2 separate regions of the Homo sapiens genome follow, and region 1 is linked to region 2. The links are contacts of gene promoters, found by promoter capture Hi-C in human tissues and cell types (Jung and others, 2019). All regions are on one chromosome and are shown on one strand. Each heading gives the region's core, a stretch centred on a gene start or on the middle of the fragment in contact. The rest is flanking DNA. Distances are from core to core; before and after follow the strand shown. Region 1 holds the start of OR8B12 (olfactory receptor family 8 subfamily B member 12). Region 2 holds the start of OR10D3 (olfactory receptor family 10 subfamily D member 3).

What was found. The method cuts DNA at HindIII sites, captures the fragments that hold promoters and counts their contacts. A contact is called where the count stands out against the background at its distance.
Region 1: a contact is called between the fragment with the promoter of OR8B12 here and the fragment with the promoter of OR10D3 in region 2, in 4 of the 25 tissues and cell types used here (IMR-90 fibroblasts, heart left ventricle, mesendoderm cells and 1 more).

Annotation. Positions count from the first base shown.
Region 1 is chr11:124,539,500-124,545,957 of GRCh38, reverse strand. It overlaps OR8B12 (olfactory receptor family 8 subfamily B member 12), which reads left to right and starts at 2,304. Exons shown (of 1, transcript NM_001005195.1): 1 at 2,304-3,236. The coding sequence starts at 2,304. The coding sequence ends at 3,236. The HindIII fragment of the contact is 12,708 bases long and covers 1-6,458 here.
Region 2 is chr11:124,178,276-124,184,874 of GRCh38, reverse strand. OR10D3 (olfactory receptor family 10 subfamily D member 3) reads right to left here and starts at 1,530. Exons shown (of 2, transcript NM_001355213.3): 1 at 1,492-1,530. The HindIII fragment of the contact is 12,854 bases long and covers 1-6,599 here.

The DNA.
Region 1 (6,458 bases), core at 1,055-3,554, 360 kb before region 2:
TAAGATGAGGGCAAATAATAGTTCTGTGAATCTATCAGTTCCTGGCATTGGAAATGCTTGGGAAGATTTTAAAAAAACACAGCCACCATATCCATATCTATGGAGATTCTGATTCCAAAGGTATGGTTGGAGCCCAGCATTTCTTTTTAATGAATATTTTAGATAATTGTGATAACCAGCTAGGTTTGGGAAACACTGGATGAGATACTCTCTCAAGTCTTTTCGGGTCTAAAATTTTATGAGTTTGTTGGTTTGATGTTAAAGAAAATAAGTAAATATCTTAGAGACAGAGACATAGGATAGACGATTTTAATCCAGGCAGAGCTTGGAGGTATGGAGTAAAAGACAGAAAAAGACAAATGCAAACCAAAGAGGAAGAACAAATGTGGATGTGTTCCTGCAGTGGGAGTCTGGTCTACTAGGACTCAGTTTGAGGGCACTGAACAGATGGAAAGTCAGTTGGGAGAAGTGCTCAAAGAAAAGTGGGTGGAAGGCAGGGACAGCCAGAGGGAATTTTGACTAGTTATTAATTTAGAGAAAGGCTGGTCTTGGTAGACATTGAGAGCAGTTACCTGATAGGGATTCTTGTTACCATTAAACATACACTCCATGAGAGGACAGGGGAGGGGAACGAGAGAAGTATGTTCTTGTCTGAGCTGGGACTAGAGTAGTGCAATTAATTCCTGAGGTGAGTGGAATATGAATAAATTATTGAATAGCCTATTCTAAATTACAATAGCCCTTTGTGTTAACCTTTCCAGGCTCTAATTGCTTCCTTTTAAAACTTAAATTCATTGAATATTTACTTGTTATTTTCCAAGAGACTGTCAGATCCAAGAAGGCAAGGGCTCTGCTTTATGGATTTCAGTAGCTGTCCTTGGGAGGTAGTTTAGTCTAGCAGCTACATAAGGGGCTTGGAGTCAGACAGACCTAAGCATACCTGTGGACTCTGAAACATCTTGTCTCTGTGAGCAACTTACCTGTAAAATAGGTATTGTGAGAAATAAATAAAGATATGTTTGTATATGTGTACTCTGGATCTTGGCAGCTGGAATAAGGGTACTATGTCAGGTACTAAATTATTGGGTATTCAAGAAATGGTAATGACAATCATTTTTTTCACAATGATTTTCTCTTAATAGTACAGGATACATGTTAGTAGAAAGCCAAATCAAGCAATTCCAAGAGATAAACAAACATTTCTTCTTCTCTAGGGAAACTAATTGCTAAGCAAGTGGTCTTGAGGGAGTCTCTATCTTAATGGCCAGATCATTGAGGTCTGTAATCCAGAATAAAACTCTTTAGTCTTTTGTTATTCACTGGTCAGGAAAAAGCTTTGTCTCCTTCCTGGAAGCTGGAGAGGCCTTTGGGCAAATGAACAATTGGAAGTCATGTCCTTCAGTGCAGGAAGTGTTATGAGATACATTAGAGGTTCTGATCCTTTGACCTGTACTGGGAAGAGAGGGCTTTGAGCTCAGATCTGTCATCTTGTCTTCACTAGGGTCATCTTCCTCCCCAGAATGTGAAAAAGAGGCAGTAGAGTATAGCATTTATGGCTCTAAAGGGAAGGAAGGTGAGTGCCTGCCCCGATGCTGGTCACTTATGTAACATGGTGATTTCAAGTGCAAGCCATTTGAGCCATACTGCCGAAATTCACCTTCTGGCTGCAGGTGGTTTGGGGACTTTTGTCTAGTTATGTCATCTTACTTGTTTCATCTGTAAAATGAAGATAATAATATTGCTACATGGCTCTTCAAACAGAACCTCTTATAGTAACCACTCAATAAGTGTCAGCTTTAAAAAATTATTAAATGTACAGCCACTTGAGCTAAGAGATCTTGGAAAAGCATGAGCTCACCTACTTAATCTGACAGTGTGGACCCAGAGGTGGAAGCTCTGAGCAGAGCCACTGTGGCTTCTGCATCTCAGGATTCCCTTCAGGGAAGAGGTCCAGGTTTTACCAAGTGAAGCAGAGACAGGAGAGGGAAAGATATAGAAAAGGGACTGACCTAAGGATCTAAAAGACATTTGGATTATTTTTGGTACCCCTTTCTTCAGCAGATCCAGCTCTCATTCTGCAGTTACAGTTGAGTCTCATATTACACTTTGGGAGTTATAATCACTCGGACTGTGAAGATAGACCCACAGTGAGTGGTAAAAACCTTCCTACCAAAGTTCAAATCTCTCTCCTTGGATTCCTTTTCTAAGAATGGGAGATAGAGACTAAGAATGTGGTGGTGATGTTTCTTTCTAAGTGGTCCTCTTCTCTTGTCCCCTCCGACTCTCCTGCCTGACCAAAAAGAATGGCAGCCAAAAACTCTTCTGTGACAGAGTTTATCCTCGAAGGCTTAACCCACCAGCCGGGACTGCGGATCCCCCTCTTCTTCCTGTTTCTGGGTTTCTACACGGTCACCGTGGTGGGGAACCTGGGCTTGATAACCCTGATTGGGCTGAACTCTCACCTGCACACTCCCATGTACTTCTTCCTTTTTAACCTCTCTTTAATAGATTTCTGTTTCTCCACTACCATCACTCCCAAAATGCTGATGAGTTTTGTCTCAAGGAAGAACATCATTTCCTTCACAGGGTGTATGACTCAGCTCTTCTTCTTCTGCTTCTTTGTCGTCTCTGAGTCCTTCATCCTGTCAGCGATGGCGTATGACCGCTACGTGGCCATCTGTAACCCACTGTTGTACACAGTCACCATGTCTTGCCAGGTGTGTTTGCTCCTTTTGTTGGGTGCCTATGGGATGGGGTTTGCTGGGGCCATGGCCCACACAGGAAGCATAATGAACCTGACCTTCTGTGCTGACAACCTTGTCAATCATTTCATGTGTGACATCCTTCCTCTCCTTGAGCTCTCCTGCAACAGCTCTTACATGAATGAGCTGGTGGTCTTTATTGTGGTGGCTGTTGACGTTGGAATGCCCATTGTCACTGTCTTTATTTCTTATGCCCTCATCCTCTCCAGCATTCTACACAACAGTTCTACAGAAGGCAGGTCCAAAGCCTTTAGTACTTGCAGTTCCCACATAATTGTAGTTTCTCTTTTCTTTGGTTCTGGTGCTTTCATGTATCTCAAACCCCTTTCCATCCTGCCCCTCGAGCAAGGGAAAGTGTCCTCCCTGTTCTATACCATAATAGTCCCCGTGTTAAACCCATTAATCTATAGCTTGAGGAACAAGGATGTCAAAGTTGCCCTGAGGAGAACTTTGGGCAGAAAAATCTTTTCTTAAGAAAGGATTAGTATTGGAGGAAGGAGATACAATGCTTTGCTTATTAGTGTGTGTTTTCAGTGAGATTCAAGTTCCATTTTTTTCCTGTCTTGTACAGAAAAAGAATTTTAAATCTTTACATTTGGATGAGTGTTAAGTGCAGACATATTCTCCCTGTCTCTGCTTCACCTAGTTATTCCAGGATTTCTTCATTTTATGCAAATTTTTCTATAATCATAGACCATTTAATCGTGAATTGGCCTTACACATTATTTAATCTAGTCTCTTCAATTAACATGTGTTGGAGACTCAGAAATACATATGTTGCTCAAGGACACACAACTACTTGGTGCCACAACTGGGAATGGAATCCAGGTCCTTGAATTCCAGGCTGCTTTTTTTTTCTTTATGTCATTTTTTCATGCTTCATTGCTGCCCTTGCAGATATCCTTTTAAAAGTAAGAAAACTTAACACATTAAAACCTAATTCTATTCATAGTAATTTAATGTGACCTCTCAATAAATAATTTTTAAATATTTCATTTTTTTTCAAGAGGATAGAAGATGAAACATTTTCTTAAGTTGGTCTTCACCAAATGAGAAGAGAATTGTGTCAAGTTTGTAGAATGTGACTGACATTGAGTTAAGATTGAGGTTGTGTGGAACCCTAGGAACCCAGTCTAGGGAATTAGGACTTCCATAGGATTAAGGGTTATAAAGATGCTGAGTAGAAATCATACATTCATTTGAAAACTTAAAGAATCAGAATGTAGAGCTTTTTCAAGGGTTAGTTTGGGTGTTTGAGCTGTGATGGAGAAATATGTGGCTTAGGATAATCAACTAAGGGTCTGGAAGTTTTCGAGGCGAAGTAAATAATGTTGAGAATCTAGTTAGTTATTAAAACAGCACTAAGCAGCTGATTATTAAAAGAGGCAATTTCCATTGAATTTTAAGGTACTGCAGACTGCACTCATATAAACATATGTGGTAAAAGATAATTCATCCAAGACTGGGTTGTAAACCCACAACATATAATGATAGTTATAGAACACGCCAGATCAATACACTTTGATCTAAATAATTTATTAGTAGCAAAGGAAGGTTCTTTGGATTAGCATTAACCATGTTAAGTGCTGGGGAGACACTTTGATTTCTGAGCTTTTCCTTGGGAATATTCTTTGGGAAAAAGGGAAGTTTAGATGAGGGTGTAGTTTTGTTCTTTGGTATGACACGAAGGGCTTGAAGTCATAAGACTGAGAGTGTGTGTGTGTGTACGTGTGTGTGTGTGTGTGGTGGGAAAGATTTTTCTTTAGTCAGCGTGGAATAGGAAAGAGAAGTGAGTTCAGGAGACTTGTGGGTGGGCGTCTGGTGGGTGAGGTGAATAGGCTATTTGAGGTAGAGAGCAGATGAAAACAGCGATTCGTGAGGCACATGATGAAGTTGGTTTTGTATCCTGGCTCAGTTGCTTAGTAATTTTGTGACTTTGGGCAAATTACTTAATGTCTCTAAATATTAATTTTTTTATTTTTGAAAGTGATGTAATGATTCTGACTTCGTGGGGTCTTTGAAGAATTAAATGCAGGGCACTTACTACATTTTAGTTATCACCCTGCAATAATTCTTTTATGTAATTATCAGCACTTCCTTGAGTTTTTCCATGAGCTGAGACAAGTCACTTCATCTTCCTGGAACTCTGCTTAGTCATGAGAAAAATGAACTCTAAGTATCATTTAAAAAGTCATATATTTTGACTAAGTAATATTTGCGTATGGTACAGCACTAAACAATATAAATGGGGGTTATACAGTGAAAATATGTCTTCCTCCTATCTTATCATTCCATTCCTAAAATCTCCTTCCTAAAAACAACAGTTGTTGCTGATTTCCTATGAATCTTCTCATATTCGAGCATATCTATCTATGTATCTTTCTATCTATGCATGTATCTGTGTATGTATGTACATATCTATCTAATTTATCTAATCTATCTGCCTATCTATTCATCCACCTATCTTGTTTTAAAGTTGTATAAAAAGGCATTTTCCAAAGGAAACAGCCTAGAAGAGGATGGGATAAGAGAACAATGCAGGGGTAAAAAGAAGAGGAGCCAATCACAGAAGAGGTCTGGGAAGGGATGCAGCTGAGGAGGGAGAGAAAGAACAGAGGCACACTTGGCCCTGGATGCATCACTGTGGACCCCAGCCCTGGAGCCACAGGGTAACATTTTGGTTCCCTGATCTTCTGTCCTCATCTCGTGGTTGCACCACTCCCATCACTATTTGGTTGATATTGTGGTGAGGTCAGAGCCTCTGATAGTTAAGAATATCAGGATGGCAAGTATTTTTAATCCGTCACAAAGTTCTATACGTGCTTATCTATTTTAACTAATGAGGCACATGGTTTTTCTTTTTCTGATTCTTGGAGCAACTCATATATTATTGTTGAAAATTTGGAATGTGAAATATGTGTGAAGAAAATGATTACCTATATCTCAATGTGGTAGTTTGAGTTATTGGTCAAAATTCGTCATTCATCTAGTAGTATTATATATCCATTCCCTTGCCATGGTCTCACAGAAGTAGGGTATATTTTTCCTTGCCTATGACTGTTGGCTTGGCCAGGTGAACTATTTTGGCTAATAGGATATTAGTAGATGAGATGTTAGCAGGAGCTTGGAATATCTTTGCATGGTATTTGCCCTCTTCGGCTTCTGCCATTGCCTTGAGAAGAGTCCCTCCTGGGTAAATGCTGCCGCTCCCAACTAATTCTCAATATGAACACACGAGGAGCAGTGTTCACTGTGCAGAGCAAGCAGTGCGGCCCAGCTGAGCCCAGACAAGACGAACTACCACAATCAATTTGTAGACATATGAGAAACAAATATTCCTTGTTGTATGCCAATGAGATTGTGTTTGGTTGTATAATAATAGCTAACTGGTCTACTCCACCATTCGGAGAACAGGAAAGGAGAATATTGTCTGGAATATGAAAGTCTCTTCCAGTGGGATCATCCTGTATGTGCTGTGTTACAAAATGTTGTTTAACTTATCATTATAATGTGATCTTTATTCCTTATCAATATTTTTTTGAATTGTAATTTTCCATGGACTTAATTAATCATGTAGCTATGTCATATTTTATTTCAGCTTTTTCCTGTTGCTAAACATTAACACTGTGTCAGTCTCCCCAACATTTAATTGATATAAATAATACCATAACTATGAGTTTTGTGTTAAAATTTTTT
Region 2 (6,599 bases), core at 281-2,780:
ACCACAATTCGGGAATCATCATATTTGTAAGCCATTATTAGCAACAACGTTAGATTTTATGTCTACGTTTTTTAAGGGAATCATAAAGGTTGATCCCTGCTTTGCAGTTCAAAACACTTATACAACATGATCTCCGTTCATCTAATCCTGGCAGTCACTTTTTGAGGAGGTCTACAGAAAAGATTACATTTGAGCAGTAGGAAGGCTAGGTGACTCTCCTAAATTAAGGCAGCTAGTTCTTGGTAGAACTAGGCATCTACATTCTTTTTTTTTCTTTTTAAACATCAGTCTTTCCCCCGGGTCTGGATGGATCCATCTGTGATAGATCACGGCATTACTGGCCTTGTCAAATCTTACCCCGGTATTAACCATGTTTTTCATTTGGACATCACCAGGCTCTTAAAATGTTGTTCCTCCTCCTCCTTAGTAAGCAATGGAAAATCAATATATATCCAGCTACCTCCCCACACACACACAAATATAACATCTAGGAGAGTAAATATTTTTTGTGTTTACGATTATACTCTCAGTGCAAAGAACAGTGCCTTTTTCAATAAACGTTTGATGAAGGAAATAAGATAACTCACTCAATGCCTGGCAAGAATTGGATATCATTCCTCTTGTGCAAGGATCTGTGTGGTACTATCAGATAGTAATTTCTCCTCACAGTCTTCTAAAGCAACTTGATCATCTACCTGTTTCTCTTTTGCCCATTTCCTGTATATTTGGAATTTCTCTGTTTACAATCATGTCACCTGCACTCCAGAAGAAGCTCTACACTACATTCCAAAAAGCAATCAGACCCAAGACAAGTGCTACATATAATCTATACTGCTTCCAAAAATGTCCTGGCTGTCATACATCAAAGAAAGAATCAAATGAAGATATCCACATATGGGCTCATTTAGAGTTTCTGTTACTTTAATAATATAAAATCAAGTCCAAATTCCTGATTGTAAAGTGAAATAACAAGAATGGGGTTTGTGAGCTGATGGGCCAGCACAATGGGCTCAAAGATAAACCAAGCAAATAAGATCTATTCTTCTGGCCAGTAGATCCATGCTCTCTGTTCATTCTGAATTCTGAGAATACTTTGTAAACTGAGGACTCCAAATTTTCCTCTCCATTGGATACACAAAGCATAAAAGAGGAGTGAAAAAAGAGGTGAGGGCCCCTATAATTTCAGCTACTCTGGAGACTAAGGCAGGAGAATTGCTTGAACCCGGGAGGTGGAGGTTGCAGTGAGCTGAGATCGTGCCACTGCACTTCAGCCTGGCCAACAGAGTGAGACTCAGGGAGGGAGGGAGGGAGGGAAGGAGGGAAGGAGGGAAGGAGGCAGGGAGGGAGGGAGGGAAGGAAGGAAGGGGAAAGAAAGAAAAAAAAAGAAAGAGAAAAAAAGAGAAAGAAAGAGAAAGAGAGAGAAAGAGAGAGAGAAAGAGAGAGAGAAAGAAAGAGAGAGAAAGAGGCAAAGATGGCACTTATGTAACTTACAAAGAGAAAGTATGATCATTTAATCATCTGTTTGTATAGGATTTTTAGTCCAAATTTTCCTTTGGCATATTAGAGGTTAGGGATCTCCACCCATGATCTGGAATGCTTTCTTCTTAGCCAAATAAACTCTGACTAAATGACATGCAGCAGCGTGCGTCTCTGTCTTCTGCACAGACATCTTCCAAGACACTGATATCTACATTGCTTTCTCCTACGTGGAAATTTAAATATCTTTGGAGCCTTTGGGACCCCATTCCTGAATGAGTCCTATTCAAGGAGGTTGTTGAGCAAAGGGAGTAATTAGAAGTGAGTAAACTGTCTAGTTGAAATAGAATATGGTGATGTTTCCCACTGTGACAGTGCTGGATAGGAACAAGGGGGAGCCAAATCTCTATTTTCTACCTCTAAGATTGACCCTGGGAAAGGAGAAAAAAGGTGAATGGTATAGCCCAATCCTAGGACATATGTAGAAACCAGTTACCCAGTTTCAGGATACATTATCGGAATGAGAAATAACCTAACAACCATATATCTCAGACTTTTAAAAATATCCAATTTTAAATATTTTAATCTCAGTTTCTTCATAGTTCTTGCCATGAACTGAATTGTGTTCCTTCAAAAATTCGTGTTGAAACTCTTAACACACCCAATCCACGTAACTGTATTGGAAGTAGGGTCTTTAAGAAGGTGAATAAAGTTAAATGAGACCATAAGGATGAAGCCCTGATGCAATAGAACTGGTATCTTTGTAAAAGGAGAGACATCAGATCTCTCTCTCTGTCTCTTTCTCTCTCTCTCTCTGCCTGTCTTTTTCTCTCCCTTTATCTCTCCATGTGAGAACACAGCAAGAAGACAGCCCCATCTCTAAGCCCCAGAAACCAAACCCTGCTGCAAAACCTGTGCAACCTTGATCTTGAATTTTACAATCTGCAGAACTGCGAGAAAAAAAATTCCTGTTGTTTGTGTCACCTAGTATATTCTGTTTTGTTATGGCAGCCCTAGTGAACTAACATAGTTCTTCTACTTTTCAGACTATGGTTTCTAATATTTTGATATAGAAATAGAATTTCTTTTCCTAGACTCCAACAAACATTTGTCAATTGGCACAGCTGAATTTCCTGAACCAGAAATAGTTCTCCTGATGATATTCCCAGAATTATATCAAAGTATTATTCAACAAACATTAATTAATAACCTATACAACCAAGAATAAGACAAATTTCCTTAATCTTGACCTTCTCTTCTGTGAAAGGAGTCAAGAACCTTGCCCTTTGAGATTCCAGACATTTGTAATCTGGAAATTATTCCTCTTTCATGTAACGTAACAGTTACAGAGTTGTCAAAGAACTGAAAAATATGTAAAAACCTGAAATAATAAAGTAGAGAAAACAAAAGAAAAGAGGTCAGCAATGCTAAATTTGGCTCTTTGAAAAGACTAAGAAAATAGAAGTACTTCTTTAAAAATGATTCTTGAAAAAAGTGAGAAGGCACATATAAACATGAGGAATGAAAGGATGACAGAAGCACATGGATTAAGCAGAATGAAAAGAGATATTACAACATTTGCCAAGATATTCAAATGATTTGTCAAAATAATTTATCAAATGCTTATTAATTTGTGAAAACTGACTAAAAATAGAAAATATGAAGAGTCGTATGTAAAAGTTTCTATTGCTTACTGCATAACCAATTACTCCAAACTTTTGTGGCTTAGAGGCATTTATTATCTCATGCTTTCTGTGACTCAGAAATCCAAGCACACCTTAACTCAATTCCTCTGGATCAGGGTCTCTCATGAAGTTACAGTCAAGCTACCAGCTGGGGCTGTGGTCTCCTCTGAAGGTTTGACTGGGAAAGGATCTATTTCCAAGCTTACTCACATGGCTACTGGCAGACCTGGCCCTGTCCACAGAACTGTGTCATAACATGGGAGCTGACTTCTCCCAAGGCAACCAAGTCAAGAGACAGTAAGATCGGGCCAGTGAACCCAAGATGGAAGGCACCACCTTTTATGATCTAATCTCCAAAATGATACTTCTTCAACTCTACTCACTAGAACCACATTCTATTCACTAGAACCAAGTCACTAAATCAGGGCAGGTGATTACACAAAGCATGAATCCTAGAAGGTGGGAGTCACCAGGGGCCATATGAGATGCATTGTAGGACAGTGGGGGAACGATAAACTATTAAATAAGTGATCCTGGGACAATTGGCTATTTGTGTTTTTTAAAAGTAGAAGGGAATTGAATTCTTACCTTGGTCATGAGCAAGAACCAATTCCAGGTGGATTAAAGATTTAAAAGCGAAAAAATAAAAATAAAATTAAAGGCAAATTAAAGGTAATATGTTATTTCTAAGTAAGACACAATAATCTTTAATCATAAAAGAAAGTTTTGGTAAGTCACCTTAAAGGAAGCCATTGATTTTATCAAAAAAATGGCTTAAAGCTAATAAAAAGAGAAGCTGCAAACTAGGGGAAGATATTTGCAGGACATCTTACCAAGAAAAGATTAGTATCCAGAATACATACAGAACTACTATGAATCAATTTTATAAAAGTCCAAATACTCAAAAGAAAATGAACTAAAAAATAGCATAAATTTTCCAAAGGAGGAAACCTAAATTGTCATTAAACATATTAGAAGATGCTTAACTTTACCAGTAATCAGGGACCAAAATTTTACAATGCAATATATACATTCACATACCATCAGATTGGCAGATACTAAGAAGGATGTTAATATAAAGTGTTGAAGAATGGAAGTGCTGTGAAATATCATCCACTGAGGGTATGAATGTATTTGTTATAATCATTACATTTTGGAAAGCTCTTTGGCATTCCACTCCTAAATATATCTTTTTAGAGAAACTCTTGAAGTGGTGACCCAGTGACGTGCAGAAGAATGTTTTTAACAGTAATTAAAAATCACCCACATGTCTGACAACCATAGACCAAATAAATATATAAAGATGTAAAATTACAGCTATATGCATCAAAATGAATGAATCTCAAAAGTAAGTTTGAAAAGGAAAAAAGCATCATGTTTGAGCATATTTAAACAAATTTCAAAACCAGAAAAAACTAAATAATATATTGTTTGGGAATGCATACATAGGTGGTAAATAAATAAAATAAAGAAATTTCCTTAACAAAAATTCAGATTGCTATTAACTTCTGGGAGGATAGGACTAACAGAAATACACAGAAAGAATGTCTAGATTATATTCAATTTCTATACCAGCTATAAGGAATACATGTGTTCATTAATAGTCTTTCAATTTTGTAATATATTTAAAATTTGCAGAATATTTAAAAATATTTTACATAATAATTTTTAAAACTGGCTGAAATAAATTGAAAAGTATATTATTAAATTTATTTTAAATACTATGATATAAATTAATATAAATAACATATAAAACAGATACGTATTTATTCCCAGCCAATAAAAAGCACGTACCATTTAATTTATTTAAAATTAATTATGAAAACCACAATTTATTGAACACATAATTTTTTAAATGCTGAATTATGCCATGTTTGGCTTGTTCACCAAATATATATTAAAATACGGAGTAAAATTTTAGGACTTGTTAGGGTGTGAAAATGAACAAAACCGGTTTTCAAAACACATTCTTTAGAATGTTAGCATTTCATAGTTAAAGAATTTAAATAATGTTGGAAAGGGAAAGACTCAGGCTTCTATTTGTAAGCACTTCTCAATTTTTTATAACCAGGTATATGGTGTCTATCCTCAGAAATGAAATAAAACTGGGAGTAAAATTGTCACTGTATATTTTAACAACATTTTTGAAATACCAGAATATGATGAAATGAATACAATTTCTTAAGTGCAACATGAGCCAAGCATACGTGATTAATGCCAGTCTACTTATCATGTTTATTTATTTTGAGCTCAACATTATTTTTCCTCATATTTCCTCTAGTTAATCACTAGTCCAAAATGGGTATAAATTATATATAAATGAGAAGACAAACACTTTAAGACTATAATGGTTAACATAAGCAGTTGTTATTTTTGCATATCACCAAATCAGTGACTGAAACATGAGCATATGTCCCCACATCCTTTATTGCACGTGTTCACTCAGACCACACGTACAGAGGCTCTCAAAAAATTTTATATGGATGAAAAGGTATTAAAATATTTTTCTTAATGTGTGTTTGTTTTTAAGAATCATATTGGAAAAGAGTGCACTATTGCTATCCCTACCTATATGAAAGGTTAGAATTATTTTTTTGGATCTCTGGAGGCTTTCAAACCCCTGATTTGAAAATGTTGCCCTGCAGAATTCAGAATATCCTCTGCAGCACTCAGAATGCATTCCTGCACTTCCATGAACAGGAATGACACTTTTTCAAGGCCGACCATTGTCTGGTTAATCATTTTCTTCCATTCAATCATTCCTCCTTGAGTTTTCTAGAAAATGTTCCTTGTTCTGCTCTTGTAATCTGCCAAATGAATGTGGGCCCCTTTTCATCCAGCATCCCTTTACAGATTTGAGATCATCAGTCCTATCTGCTGTCTCTTTATCTAAATATTCTAATTTCCCACAACCATCTCTCTCTCCAACATCACGTTCTTTTTTTATTTTTGCATGTCACTATTCTAGTTTGTTGATGTCTCCCTTGAGGTGCCATCTCAGACTTGAAGGCAATTCATCAGGTATGATAACATTTAGATTGTGCCTGGGACATAGGTGGGCTCAATAAATTCCTGTTGAATGAATGAATGACTTATCTTTTTCCTATCTTTTGCATTTCTTTGTGTTGAAGTCAATTTGCTCTTCATGCTTGGGAACTAATTCCTCCTATCCTATTCTGCCACTTCCAGGTGAAAAAAAGAAAATGACAGCTGGTCCTACTCCCAGTACATTCATGAATACTTATCTTATTAGGCCAAAGTTTCCTAATACACTTTTACATCTTCAACTGGTGTTATTTTTTTTCTCCCTGGAGAAGGCACTTTCATGGGAAGGCAGTCACTGCTGAGAGGATGATGTCTGACTTCACAAGCCGATCTGATTTTATGTTTACATAGTCTATTTTCTTTTTGTTTCTCTTAGTATTGATTTATTAACAT